Regions from separate parts of the Homo sapiens genome. Here all the other regions are linked to region 3. The links are contacts of gene promoters, found by promoter capture Hi-C in human tissues and cell types (Jung and others, 2019). All regions are on one chromosome and are shown on one strand. Each heading gives the region's core, a stretch centred on a gene start or on the middle of the fragment in contact. The rest is flanking DNA. Distances are from core to core; before and after follow the strand shown. Region 1 overlaps NMNAT3 (nicotinamide nucleotide adenylyltransferase 3). Region 2 holds the start of LOC124909440 (a long non-coding RNA gene). Region 3 holds the start of CLSTN2 (calsyntenin 2).

Region 1 (4,507 bases), core at 1,906-4,405, 330 kb before region 3:
TTTTCTATTCCCTTGCTTCTGTGGGGATGCTTTTGAAGTGTTATGCCATTATGCATCATGCTAAGGAAGGATCCTTACAGTTCTAATTTACTGAGAGCATAAAAAAAATCCCCAAGTAGGTGCTGGATTTTATTGAATGACTCAAGTGTGTATTGAGATGATGATTTAAGTTTCATAAAAATATATTGTCTTAGTAATGTGGTATATTAATAGATATCTTTATGGTATATTGTCCTTGAATACCTAGGATAAATGCTACCTGGTCTTGTTGAATTATTCTTTTATTAGCAATTTGATAACCTACTACTTTATATGGGTATTTTGCACCTAAGATTATATTGTTAAACACTAGCTGTAACGCCACAATATCCTTATTCAATTTTCTTTGTGCTAGAAAATAGCTATGGTAGATTGAATTATTGCTCCCAATTCCTCACTCTGCCATTATAGTATTATACACCCACATCTCTGCCACAGCCTCACAAAGGCCAGAATGTATTTCCCTGCCCCTTGACTTTGGAATTGGCTATGAGACTTGCTTTGACCAATGGGATAGTAGCAGATGGGACATAAACAGAAACTTAAAGCTTGCTTGCTTGGTGGGGCTTGCAATCCTCTGCCTGTGCTATCTACATGAGAAGAATACATAAGGCAGCCACTTCCTCTGCTAACTCTCTTAAACCTCAGAATAGGAGAGGAGGAACACATCTGTCTCAGCTGACTCAAGATCTGTGATCAAGAAATAAACTGCTTATTCTTGTATGCCGTTGATAATTTGTAGTTTTTATGCAGCTGAAGCTGACCAATATAATGTCTTATCTGAAAACAAACAAAAAAGTGTGGATACTATTTTAAGACTTAAATAAATAGAATTAGATAACAGATGAACAGCTCATGGCACTTAGCTTGTGCTTGGCAATCATCACTCCCTCCATTCTCTGGCCTGGTAGGCTCACTAGAGGAGAGAATTGTGACAGATGGTCTTTTCAAAACATGGCCACAGGATCATCTCATCTCCTGGTTTACATGCTCTTCTAGAACCTGGCCACTCTTCCATTGAGAGGTGAAGTCTGTGTTCCTCCTAGGGGGCTGGGGTAGGTATTTGTGACTGCTTTACTCAATGGCAGAAGTGATACTTTGTGACTTCTGAGGTTAGGTCATAAAAATGCCATGCACTTACATCTTATGGTCTTGGGGCACTTGGTTTTAGAACCCAGCTGCCATGAATGGGTTCTAAAAAACGCCCAAACTAGCCTACTCAGAAAGACCCCACAGTGTGGCCACATGCATGTGCTGTAGTCAATGTCCAACACCCAGCACCAACTGCCAGACACATGAATGAAGAGTCCCTGGATGACTGCAGGGACTCCACTCGGTCACAGTCTTCAAGACTTCTCAGCTGAGTCCCCAGGTATCATGGAGCAGGGACAAGCCACCCAGTTGTGCTCTGGTGAAATTCCTGACCCACTGAATCTATGAGCATAACAGAATGGTCAATTTACACCAGTAAGTTTGGGGTGGTTTGTTATATACTGATAACTGGAACAGGAATGGAGATTCAAAAAGTTTATGTGATTTTTCCCATGGTTATACTACCTGAAAATGGTAGGCTTGAGATTCAAACCCAGGTTTGCCCATATTTTTTTTTCTACTGCACTGTACTGATGATGGACAGTGAATTTTGGAGAGGTAGTAGCTAAGCCAGGCAGGGCTAAGAAGGGTACCACTAAGTAGCTCCACCTCCATCTATGTGTAGCCCCAAACCAGGTCACTCTAAGGTGTGATGGAAAAACTGCCCCTTCTAGAGCTGACCATCCCCCTCAGCAAGACTGGGCCTCAATAAAATGTTATTGCTGCTTAAAATGCTAGCAGCCTCACAAACCGTGAAGCAAAGACTTAATAGCATTCCAAACTGTAAAGACTTCATTATTTCCACAGAGAATGGCTTGGCACACTTATCAGCATTTTATTAAAAATTACCATACATATTTAAAACAAAACTACATGTGTCAAAACAATTGAGAAAAGCATTAGGTAATGCTCAGACGTGGCTGCTCTGTAGCACAGAATGATTACTAATTTGCCTCTTCCCTTTTGCAGACTTCAGTTCTGGGGCTTTTGCTGGGAGAAGCTTGGTGTTTCTGTGGGCACAAGCACAGTCTGGCCCCTACCACCTCATGCACACTTTTGCCCATTTTCTTCTTCCCTTGGTTGTGTTGGCTGAAGTGCACCCTGGGAAACAAAGGCCTTGAAAGACAAAAATCTAAGAGATCAGGAGCAACTGTCACAAGTGGTGTTAAGAATCAAGTAACAAAGAAGCTTGGGGTAATGTAGCATGTTAAGAAAAAACATAAAAAAGACCAGAATCTCAACTAAATGGTTATGCATGCCTTTACAAACAGACTGTTGTGATTAAACCTCGCCTCTAAGTGAAGCTTGGAAAATATGATCTGGCTGTGGCTACTGAGACTTTGAGGCCATTTTAGCACCATTGTCTTTATTTTCCTTATCAGTCTTCAAGCTTATTTAATGTTTTGCATCTTTTTTTGTTTCTCCAGAGAGCTCTTCAACTGTGTGATCCAAATGAATTTGAGAACACCTATTTACTGCTCCGCCCTGTGTCCTGCTGGCCAGAAGTGCCCATCAATTTCAAAGGCCTCTGTGTGACTGGATTGAGGAAGCCAAGAGCAGGGAGAAGAATAGATCCAGGTCTTCCCATTACTCCAAAATGGAGCCTAGCCCTCTGGCAGCACAGTCGGCCAGCTGGGACCACGGTGGCCATTACTGGAAGTGTGATCATCTGCCCTCTCTCCTCAGTGCCCTTGGAATATGTGCTCTTCTGTCTGGCTTCAATTTCTCTTACTTCTTTGTGTGTGAAGAGTCTTCCTTTCAATCAGCAAACTCTTCCTGCACACTATAAAGCCCACTTTGGTCTTCAGAATCTTTCAGTGCCTGAGCTTGTCAGTATGAGGTTTCTCTTTCTTTATTTCCAAATGTCCTGCTTTCTTTGTGTGCAACTTCTTAAGAATTTGGCAAAGTAAACAACAAAGCAGCAATATTTCATAGGGTTTAAACTTCCCTTTGGTCCTGGATAGAAAGGATTTTTTTTTTTTTTTTGAGACGGAGTTTTGCTCTTGTAGCACTGGCTAGAGTGCAATGGCGCAATCTTGGCTCACTGCAACCTCTGCCTCCTGGGTTCAAGGGATTCTCCTGCCTCAGCCTTCCGAGTAGCTGGGATTACAGGCACCCACCACCACGCTGGCTATTTTTTTTGTATTTCTCAGGAGAGACAGCATTTCACCATGTTGGTCAGGCTGGTCTCGAACTCCTGACCTCAGGTGATCCACCCACCTTGGCTTCCCAAAGTGCTGGGATTATAGGCCTGCCACCTGGATCTATTCTTCTCCCTGCTCCTGGCTTTTTCAATCCAGTCACAAAGAGGCCTTTGAAATTGATGCCTGCCACCACACCTGGCAGAAAGGATGTTTTTGTTTCTTCTTTTTCCTGTTCCTTTCTCTGCAATCATCTCTCTGAGTCTCAGACATGTGGCACTGGTTGGCTGGCAGCACCTTCTGTGTGTCTGAGCCCTTACATAGCTTCCAGAGGAAGGGGTGCTCCGTTGGGGTCCTGCCTGCTTTTGGAGCATTAGAATCTCCTTTTTTGCAAGCCTCTGTCTCCCATCATTTAACACCCAGCTGTGTCTCTCTGCCCACTGACCAGAATCTTTTCGCAGTAGGTGGGTTTTAAAAAGCACTCACCAGAACTCCCAAATGCTAGGGTCTCATGGCCCCTCAAAAACTCATTACCTTCTCTTTGGGATCCTCAGACCTGGCAGGAACCTCACATAGGAAGAAAGGCAGCCAGGGAGCAGGCAGTGAGGACAGGTTGTAATCAGGCAGTTCTGGCTGGGCATAAAGTCTGCTCCTGCTGAAGGCAAGCTGCTCAACACTGCACTGGACATCCTCCATGTGTGGAATCTAGGCAAAGCAGCTCTGTCCTCTATTAACAAATAACTGAGCCTGGGCAATCTGTTACTTCAACTGTCCTTTCAAGCCAGGCTTTGCAGTAACAGGAATTTGAGGTCCAGCATGCAGAGACAGACCTAAGTGTGAGCCTCTGCTACTTATGAGCTGTGTGACCTGGGGCAAATTACTTAACCTCTCTATACCCTATTCCCTTCACTTGTGCAATAAGAATAAATAATACCACACACTTCGGAGGCATGGCGTAAGACTCAAATGACTAATATAGGGATAGTTCAGGGGCAGATACACGGTTGGAAAGCACACTAGAAATATCAGTAGAATCTGAATTTTCCCCTACCTGCCTCCTTGTTTTCACTACAAATAACATTTCCTTTCCTGCTTTTAAGTCAAGAGGGGAACACACTGATTCTTTAGCAGACAGTTTAGCACACACTTCAAGCCAGAGAGTGTACCAGCAATGTGGATTCAGAAATAAATATGATGGGAGCCCTGCTCTCACAGGATGGGGTTGGGGGTGGGGG
Region 2 (4,422 bases), core at 1,451-3,950, 290 kb after region 3:
CCCTGCAACATGGATTCCTGTGGCTGCTTTCTTCCAAATGCTACAGTGCTCAGTGTTGACTTTTTCAAGATGACTCACATGTAACTTAATGAGGATCAAGTCAAATATTTCAGGTGACTCGTGTTCTTGGTGATGCTGCAGTTCCCACAGGAGTGTGTGCCGTCCTCTGTAGTGAAGAAGGTTCTAGACATGTGTTTTCTCTCCAGAGAACTCTGGAAGGCTGCATCCAGAGGTGAATTAGCCCTGGGAAATGGGATATTTTGGTGAGGCCACTTAGGCTAATACCCTTACAGTATAGTGAGTGGTCCCCGGGTATGTTTTGAATTCATATATTTATTTATCCATTACTTCCTAGAAGCAATAAAGTGGAACAGTTACCAGCATTGGCTTTGCAGTCATATCCATCTAGATTCAAGCCCCAGCCTGGCCCCCTCCTATTTGTGTGACCAATGGCGAATCATTTAACCATTGTAATCCTCCACTTTCTCATCTACAGAAGACAGTAACGATAGAACTCAGTTCTTGGGATCATTTTGAAAGTCAAACAAGATAATGACAGAAAAAGTTTACAGTAATTTCTGGAACTCAATAAATATTCTGGTTATTATTTTTTAGTCATTTAGCTAGTGTTTATTGAGTAGTTAATATGAGCAGGGACTGTCCTAGACAGTGAAGACACATCAGGGAACATAATGAGGAGCCCTGCCAGCATGGAGTTTATATTATGTGTTCATGTGCGTGCAGGCTTTATAGACATGAAGCAAGCAGATCAAAGTCCTCAAAGTGTGACCCACAGAACTTTAGTCTGGTTGAAGCATCACAAAAAGTCAGGTTCCTTGGTCAAATAGGTTATAAAAATTTTATTATAATCATATAATCAGTCATAACCATGGAGTCTTACATAATAATATAGACCTTCTGTGCCCAGTCCTGTGTCAGAGGATCTGAGCAGCCCTCCATAAAGACACTTATTTAGCATTGATTAATCCACCATTCCCCAAACTTATGTAACCAAAAAACTCTTGTTTGCTAATTCCTATTAGACTCCCATTGACCTATGTTCTGAGAAACACATGAAGGAAAATACTAAGCTAGAGATTAGAGAGACTAGTGAAAAAGCAAGTCCACAATATAAGAAGAAATACCAGGTGGTCTGTGCCTAAGCCAAGCAACCCAAGGAAGGGCAGCCATAGAAAAGGGCTTTCCCTGCTCCACCAGCAAGTGCGCCAGCCAGCCCTCCAACATGTCTATGCTGGGCCCATCCAGGTTGCACTATGTGTGAATTCAGTAACAACTCACAATGGAGCATCAGTTCCAGCCATCTGGGTCAGCAGCCTCCCAGCTCGGAGCATAGGCTCACACCAATCACAGAGCTATCTGGGCAGACTCTCCACCCTTCCCCCACCTGCTGCTTTATGGGAAGGGCCCTGCTATCCCTGTAAAGAAGGACTCCTGTCCTTCTGGTTGGTCTGCCTTTCCAGGTGATGGTGAGAGAGACACCAGCCACCTTTCCTGGGCACACATCCCATTATCTGGCTCCTGGAGTGTGATTACATTACTTCAGTTGCACTGTTTCCATCTGACTTGAGCTACACGAATTGTTTCTCTTGCTTGTTTAATTGCCCATGTCTTATTACAGAGACAATTTATTGTTTTAGTGCAGCATAAAGTTCAAATATTTTATGCAAGATGAATACGGGCACTGACATTTTTGTTTGTTTGTTTGTTTGTTTGTTTTGAGATGGAGTTTTGCTCTTGTCGCCCAGGCTGGAGTACAGTGGCGCGATATCGGCTCACTGCAACCTCCGCCTCCCGGGTTCAAGTGATTCTTCTGCCTCAGCCTCCAGAGTAGCTGGGACTACAGGTGTGTGCTGCCATGCCCAGCTAATTTTTATATTCTTAGTAGAGATGGGGTTTCACCATGTTGGCAAGGATGTACTCAATCTCCTGACCTCATCATCTACCACCTCGGCCTCCCAAAGTGCTGGGATTACAGGCATGAGCCACTGCACCCGGCCTTGACACTGACATTTTCATGCCCTTCTCAAACTCACACAAATGAAAATCACACTGGAAACTTTTCAAACTGTTTTTGGCCAATAATGACCAAGTGTCAAAATCTCCATAAGTTGATTTTTTTTAAAAAAAAAAGGACTCTAAAAGAATATGTTTTCTTCTATAATATTGCTGGGGATTTTATTGGGTGATACCAACACAAGCTTATGAATAGCTTTCCTAGGGTGTGAAAATGCCTTGGAAAACACCTTGGGAATTAACTGTTGATATATACAACCACCTGGGTGAATCCCTAGAGAATTACACTGAGAGAAAAAAGCCAATCCCAAAAGCCTACATACATGCTGCATGATTCCATTTATATAACATTCTTAAAATAACCACAGAAATGGAGAACATTTAGTGGTGCCAGAGATTAAAGACAGGGTGGGGATGGGAGGGAAGTAGATGTGGCTATAGAAGGGTAACATGAGAGGTCCTGGTGGTGATGAACTGTTCTGCATCTTGACTGTATCAATGTCAATGTCCTGGTTGTGATATTGTGCTATAGCTTTGCAAGATGTTATCACTGGGAAAAGCTGAGTAAAAGACACATAGGATTTCTCTGTATTATTTTATACAACTGTGTTTAAATCTATAATTACATTCAAAATAAAAAGCTTAATTTGAAAATGTTGGAAAATAAGGTGGATCGACAGCTAGATAGATGGATAGATATGGGATAAAGTGGTATATGGGTATTCATTATAGAATTCTTTTAATTTTTCTCCATATTTGAAATTTTTTATAATAAAATGTTGGAAAAAAGATGTTAGAAATGTGAATAATTGCCTAAGAGAGACTAGATAATGGAACAGGACCTAAACTATGCAGTGCTGGTGTATTAGTCCATTTTCATGCTGCTGATAAAGACATACCCAAGGCTGAGCAACTTACAAAAGAAAGACAGGACTTACAGTTCCATGTGGCTGGGGAAGCCCCCCAATCAAGGCAGAAGTCAACGAGGAGCAAGTCGTGTCTTATATGGATGGCAGCAAAGGGAGAGTTTGTGCAAAAAAAAACTCCCATTTTTAAAACCATCAGATTTTGTGAGACTCTTTCACTATCATGAGAACAGTGCAGGAAAGACCCGCCCCCATAATTCAATCACCTCCCACCAGGTCCCTCTCATGATACTTGGGAATTCAAGATGAGATTTGGGTGGGGACACAACCAAACCATATTATTCTACTCCTGGTCCCTCCCAAATCTCATGTCCTCACATTTCAAAACCAATCATGCCTTCCCAACAGTCCCCCAAATTCTTAACTCATTTCAGCGTTAACTCAAAAGTCCACAGTCCAAAGTCTCATTCAAGGCAAGGCAAGACCCTTCCACCTATGAACCTGTAAAATCAAAAGCAAGTTAGTTACTTCCTAGATACAATGGGAGTACTGGCATTGGGTAAATACAGCCAATCCAAATGGGAGAAATTGGCCAAAACAAAGGGGCTACAGGCTCCATGCAAGTCTGCAATCCAGCAGGGCAGTCAAATCTTAAAACTCTGAAATGAACTCCTTGGACTCCATGTCTCACATCCAGGTCAAGCTGATGCAAGAAGTTGGTTTCTATGGTCTTGAAAAGCTACATTACTGTGGCTTCACAGGGTACAGCTTCCCTCCCGGCTGTCCTCATGGGCTGGCATTGAGTGTTGGTGGCTTTTCCAGGTGCACAGTGCAAGCTCTCAGTGGATCTACCATTGTGGGGTTGGGAGGATAGTGGCCGTCTTCTCACAGCTCCACTAGGGAGTGCCCCAGGAGGGACTCTGTATGGGGGCTTAGAACCCACATTTCTCTTCTGCATTGCCCTAGCAAAGGTTCTCAACAAGGACCCCAACCCTGTGCAAACTTCTGTCTGGGCATCCAGGTGTTTCCATGCATCTTCTAAAGTCTAGGTTGAGGTTACCAAACCCTCATTCTTGACTTCTGTGCACTTGCAGGCTCAACACCACCTGGAAGCTGCCAAGGCTTGGGGCTTCCACCCTCTGAAGTAACAGGCTGAGCTGTACCTTGGCCCCTTTTAGTCACAGCTGGAGTGGCTGGGACACAGGACACCAAGTCCCTAGACTGTGCACAGCATAGGTACCCTGGGCCTGGCCCACAAAACCATGTTTTCCTCCTAAACCTCCAGGCTGGTGATGGGAGGGGCTGCCACAAATGTCTCTGACATGCCCTGGAGACATTTCCCCCCTTGTCTTGGGGATTAACATTTGTCTCCTCGTTACTTATGCAAATTTCTGCAGCTGGCTTGAATTTCTCCTCAAAAAATGGGATGTTCTTCTCTATCTCATTGTCAGGCTGCAAATTTTCTGAACTTTTAGGCTTTCCTTCCTTTATAAAACTGAATGCCTTTAACAGCACCCAAGTC
Region 3 (4,595 bases), core at 1,490-3,989:
AATCAAATGTGTGACTGGCACACTTGTTTTCAGAGATATAGGAAGTAGGATAAGGGGAAGACATTTTTACATTTATTGAACATTGACTATGTGCAACATACTGTTTAACATATTTTTAAAATTTACTTCTTGTAATGATCTTATGAAGTAGGCATAATGCTGCTCAATCAATTGCTCCAGAACATAATGAATTAATGCAAAAACCACTTATTGTATCTCATAAGTCAGCTGGATAGTTCTGATGTGAGCCAGGCTTGGCTGATCTTGGTTGAGCTTACCTGGGCTTGCTCATGTGTCTGTGGTTAGCCAGCCTGTAGGCCAGTTGGTTCTGACCAGCCTAGTGTGACCTTGGCTGTCTGAAACAGCTCAGTTCTACTCCATGCAGTCTCCTACCCTTCTGCAGGTTAGCTTAGGCTTGTTCTCATGTCAGCAGCAGGGATTCAAGGCAGGAAGAAGCAACATGCATGCCACTGTCCCACTGACCAAAGCAAATCATATGGCCTAGCTCAGAGTTGGGGTGGGAGGGCACATCCAAAGGAAACAGATTCAGAGAAGCATGGACAAATGGCCATTAGTGCACTTGATCTACCACAATAGGCATTGTTATTACCCTCATTGGTAGAGGAGGAGATGGAGGCTAGCAATTTTGTGCCTGTTGGTAACTGGCCCACCCCCTAGTGTTTTTCTTTGCTGTGTTCTTTCCTGGCTATCTCTCCATGGAGATGCTTCCTAATAAGCTACATTTCCCCCTGTTTCTCATTATTTGGTCTGAATTTGAAACTTCACATAAAATTATTAGGACCAATCAGTGATCTTAACAAAGCCCAGTATAATGACATCAAAGAACAGTGCAGGTAAGTCAGTAAGATAGGTCTACTTATTAGAGAAAATGAAGGGAGGAGGGCAGATATGTAGTTGGGTGGAGCATAAATGGAAGAAAATGAGACAAATTTACATTTCTCTTCTATTTTCTGGCTTTTTTATTTTCCCTGGGTCAGCTACCACCTTTCCATGCCATCTTTTCTAGATTCTGAAACCAACATCTGACAAAGGCAAGGTCCTGGTGTCGGCCTGGGACATTTACTAGATTTTTGACCCTGAACAAGGAAGTTACCTAACTTCCCTGAGCCTCTATTTCATCATGTGTGAAATGAGAATAATAGCGCACATGTTGATTTGTGGGCTAAAGGAGACCTGAAGGTAAAGAGCCCCACATGGGTCTGAGCCCCATGCAGCCACCATGATTCACTGCTGTCCCCAAGCACATCCTGGTGCCTGAAATCCTGAAGAGTTGGCTTTCACCACTGCAGAGGCTCTGAGTGAGCTGCCAGGGCAGCAGAGGGAGGCTGAGCTGCAGGAGTGCTGTTAATGGATTTTATGGCTTTGTTGAGTACCTCAAACTACAGTTATTAATTAGAGGATGCTGTTTAGGCACTCTTGCAATATATACATTTTGTTAATTGATTTGTATAGGCTCATAGCTAGCAACATAAAGAATGTGCAGGACCATAACACTTACAAGGGATTGTAATTGCCTTTGCTGCCCTCTCTGGCTCCCCAAGCAGGGAACAAAAGCTTTGAGGATAGGACCCACTCTCTCCTCTGTCTTTGGATCTCCAACGACTAATCCAGTGCTCACTGTCAGGGTGATACAGCCTGTCTAGATGCTCAGCAAACGTCTTGAATCAATGACTAAATAAATAATATTGTTTGTTTCTGTATTTCCATATCTACTTTATTTCCAAACTATTCCTCATAAACCCTGCATTGTGTGTGATGTTGGCATTTCATTTAGGTAAATATGGTCAAGGATTTATTCTGAGTCCTTACTGTTTTTTTTTTTTTTTTTTTTGAGTACCTTTGTAATTTTTTCACGGCCTAGAGATGGTTGAGGATGCAAAGATATGCACTGGCTCCTGCACTCAGGGAACTGACAATACTCAACGGCACGAGATTTTACAATGCATGACGTCAAGTAGCCTGTTCTTAGAGATGCGGAGTGACAACATAAAGGTGGCAACTTCTTGCATGGCACCATACCGCAGGGAATTTTAAGTTTGACACCCCGCCCCCGCCACTGCAGCCTCAGCAGGCCCAGCACCCCAAGTTTTCTGATCTAGCTGTTCTATCAGCCTCTAAGAGCCGCGGCTGCCCCTGCTTCTCGGAGATGACGCGGAGCCCTGCCATTGCCATCCAGGTCCAAGGCTATCTACTCTGCCCGACAACCCCTAGCACCACTAGGCGCTGCTCTAGTGTGCGCCTGGCGCCCTCCCCAGACCAGTCGACGCAGAACGCCCAGAGACCCAGCCAAGGGCAAGACCCTTAGCGACGCCCGTCAGTCCTCTCCGCCCAGATATCAGTTCAAAGGGCATGGCAGGTCAGGGTCCCTCGCGCCACCCCAGATGACCCTCAGGCCTCGGGTGGCCACTTTCTGGGGGAGCCCTCCATCCCTTGCGGCAGCTTTTCCGAGAGTCGGAGTGGAGGCGCGGGGCTGGAGGGCTCTCCGGAGCCGCCCACCAGGGTCCTCTGGGGGCCCGGTCCCGACTGGGCAGGGGGACCTGGACAGGGCCCCGGAGCGTGGAGACGGCTGAGGAAAGTTGGGGGTCGGGGCCTTGGGGCGGGGAGCGCGGAACCCGGCGCCGATGCCCGCGTTCATGAATATGCACGAGCCACCTCCCTCCCTCCGTGACGTCACGGGCCGTCCCGGGGTGAGCGCCTGAGCCGCTCCGGGTCCGCGCCAGTGAGCGCGGCTGCTGCCGGCGAGCTAGCGGCGCAGCGGCGGGAACCCGAGGCCGAGCGCCGCGGCGGCAGCGCTAGAAGCGCACCCATCGGGCACGGCGAGGCGGCCCACGGTGCGGCAGGCACCGGGAGGCGAGAGCCGGCGCGGACAGTAGGCGGCGGCTGCAGCTCGTTGGCGGCTGCTGCGAGGATGCTGCCTGGGCGGCTGTGCTGGGTGCCGCTCCTGCTGGCGCTGGGCGTGGGGAGCGGCAGCGGCGGTGGCGGGGACAGCCGGCAGCGCCGCCTCCTCGCGGCTAAAGGTGGGTGCTGGGGAAGTTTGCTCTTCTCCCAGGAGGGAGGCAGGGCAGGCTTGAGGGTGAAAGCGGCAAGGACCTAGGCTCAAGCTGGATTTGCCCACCCTCCCTTGCCGCAGCTTCTTTGGCCTCTGTGCGCCCTGGATTCCCGAAGTCAGTTCCCTGCGCAGCGGACCAGAGAGGTCCACCCGCGGACGTCAACTCAACCCCTGGGCGGGGTCCGGGGGCTGAGCAGAAGGCGAGGTCTGGGGAGTACGGACAACTTTGAGGGCTGTCTGTGCCGGGGTGGGAGCGCAGTGGGTGAGTTTCGAGCTCTGGCCCAGGGACGGCTAGAGCAGGGCGCTGGCGCGCCGTGGGGACAAGCAGGTGTCTGCTCCTGCCTGGGGGAAGGATCAGCGGCGGTGCTTTCAAGGAGGGAGCCGAGCTGTGACTTGTCTCCCAGCTCGGGGATGGAGTGGAAACTTGTAGGCTCCAGGGAAGGCCCCGCTGACACTCCTCAAGCTCCCCCAGGGCGTCTCTGACTCCCCGGGGAACGTGTACCCTCCGGGTAGGCGGCGGGGTCCGGAAGAAGCGCGGGATGTGAGGCTCCCCGCTGCCTTTCCTACTCCGCTCTGACTACCGAGGACCGAGGAGCCTAACCTGGCACCACTCCCCTGCCCACCCTGTTCCTTTGAAGAGCTTGACCTCCCCGCGCCTCCCGCCCGGAAGGAAGCTAGATCCAAGCGAACGCCTGGCTCTGTCAGGCGAGCCTGGAAGCCGGCGAACCCCGGACTTTGACAGCTGCCTGGGAGCGTCGGGAGCTCTGGGGTGGGGGGCCGGGTCTGAAACAGGAGGTCACGTGCTTGCAGGGGGTGGGGAGGCGAGGGAAGAGCAGAGCTGGTGGGGAACAGTGGTGGGCTCAGGGGAGGCTGTGGCAGATCCTAGCTGGGGCGCACAGCTTAGTGATAACTTGTTGATTCTCTGCGCTGTTCATAAGTAGGGCTTGCGTTTGGTTTGTGGACTGTGGCCAAATCCGCCAGGTGACAATGAGGGGTACTTGGTCCCCAAATCCTGCCTGGCAATCATCAGAGGGCGGAGGGGTTTGCGCCTGTCAGAAAATAGATTCCCTGTTAGAGACAGCCTGATTCGGACGCTTGCTTTGAGCTACACTTGACCACTAGCTTAGGGGAGGAAATGCCTATCAGGCTGCATTACTCTTGGAGGTTGGGGAGAGCTGGAGGCAGGCAGTTCGCCTTGTCTGGGCTTTAGAAACTGGCCCTCCAATAACTTAGGAGTGATATATTTGAGAAGAACATGGGAGATTATGTTTATCTGTAATTTTTAAATTTTTTGGTGTCATCGTTTTGAAAATATTTTATAAGCAGGCATTCTGTTTCTTTTCAGCATTTTTTTTCTTGGTGTATCTTTGACAGGCAGTTTCTATTTTTAGAAATGAGAAATTTCATGAGAGAAAAACTCGTTATGAAAATATCTCAGAGTGCGGTAAAGAAGTGGCTGATATGAAGGGATCAAGCTGAGAGACTGTTGTTTTGGTGAAGACAAGAATAAAAAACAATGAACTTC

What was found. The method cuts DNA at HindIII sites, captures the fragments that hold promoters and counts their contacts. A contact is called where the count stands out against the background at its distance.
Region 1: a fragment that was not itself captured here is called in contact with the fragment with the promoter of CLSTN2 in region 3 in 2 of the 25 tissues and cell types used here (H1 embryonic stem cells and heart left ventricle).
Region 2: a fragment that was not itself captured here is called in contact with the fragment with the promoter of CLSTN2 in region 3 in 1 of the 25 tissues and cell types used here (dorsolateral prefrontal cortex).

What each region holds. Positions count from the first base shown.
Region 1 is chr3:139,597,206-139,601,712 of GRCh38, forward strand. The region is part of intron 4 of NMNAT3 (nicotinamide nucleotide adenylyltransferase 3); the gene reads right to left. Among named protein-coding and RNA genes, the nearest start is that of RBP1, 60 kb to the left of the region's middle. The HindIII fragment of the contact is 3,592 bases long and covers 1,360-4,507 here.
Region 2 is chr3:140,223,777-140,228,198 of GRCh38, forward strand. The region is part of intron 2 of CLSTN2 (calsyntenin 2); the gene reads left to right. It overlaps LOC124909440 (a long non-coding RNA gene), which reads left to right and starts at 1,827. Exons shown (of 2, transcript XR_007096118.1): 1 at 1,827-1,864. The HindIII fragment of the contact is 3,889 bases long and covers 757-4,422 here.
Region 3 is chr3:139,932,446-139,937,040 of GRCh38, forward strand. CLSTN2 (calsyntenin 2) reads left to right here and starts at 2,740. Exons shown (of 17, transcript NM_022131.3): 1 at 2,740-3,038. The coding sequence starts at 2,930. RefSeq lists silencers at 2,738-2,787, 2,828-2,887. The HindIII fragment of the contact is 4,702 bases long and covers 629-4,595 here.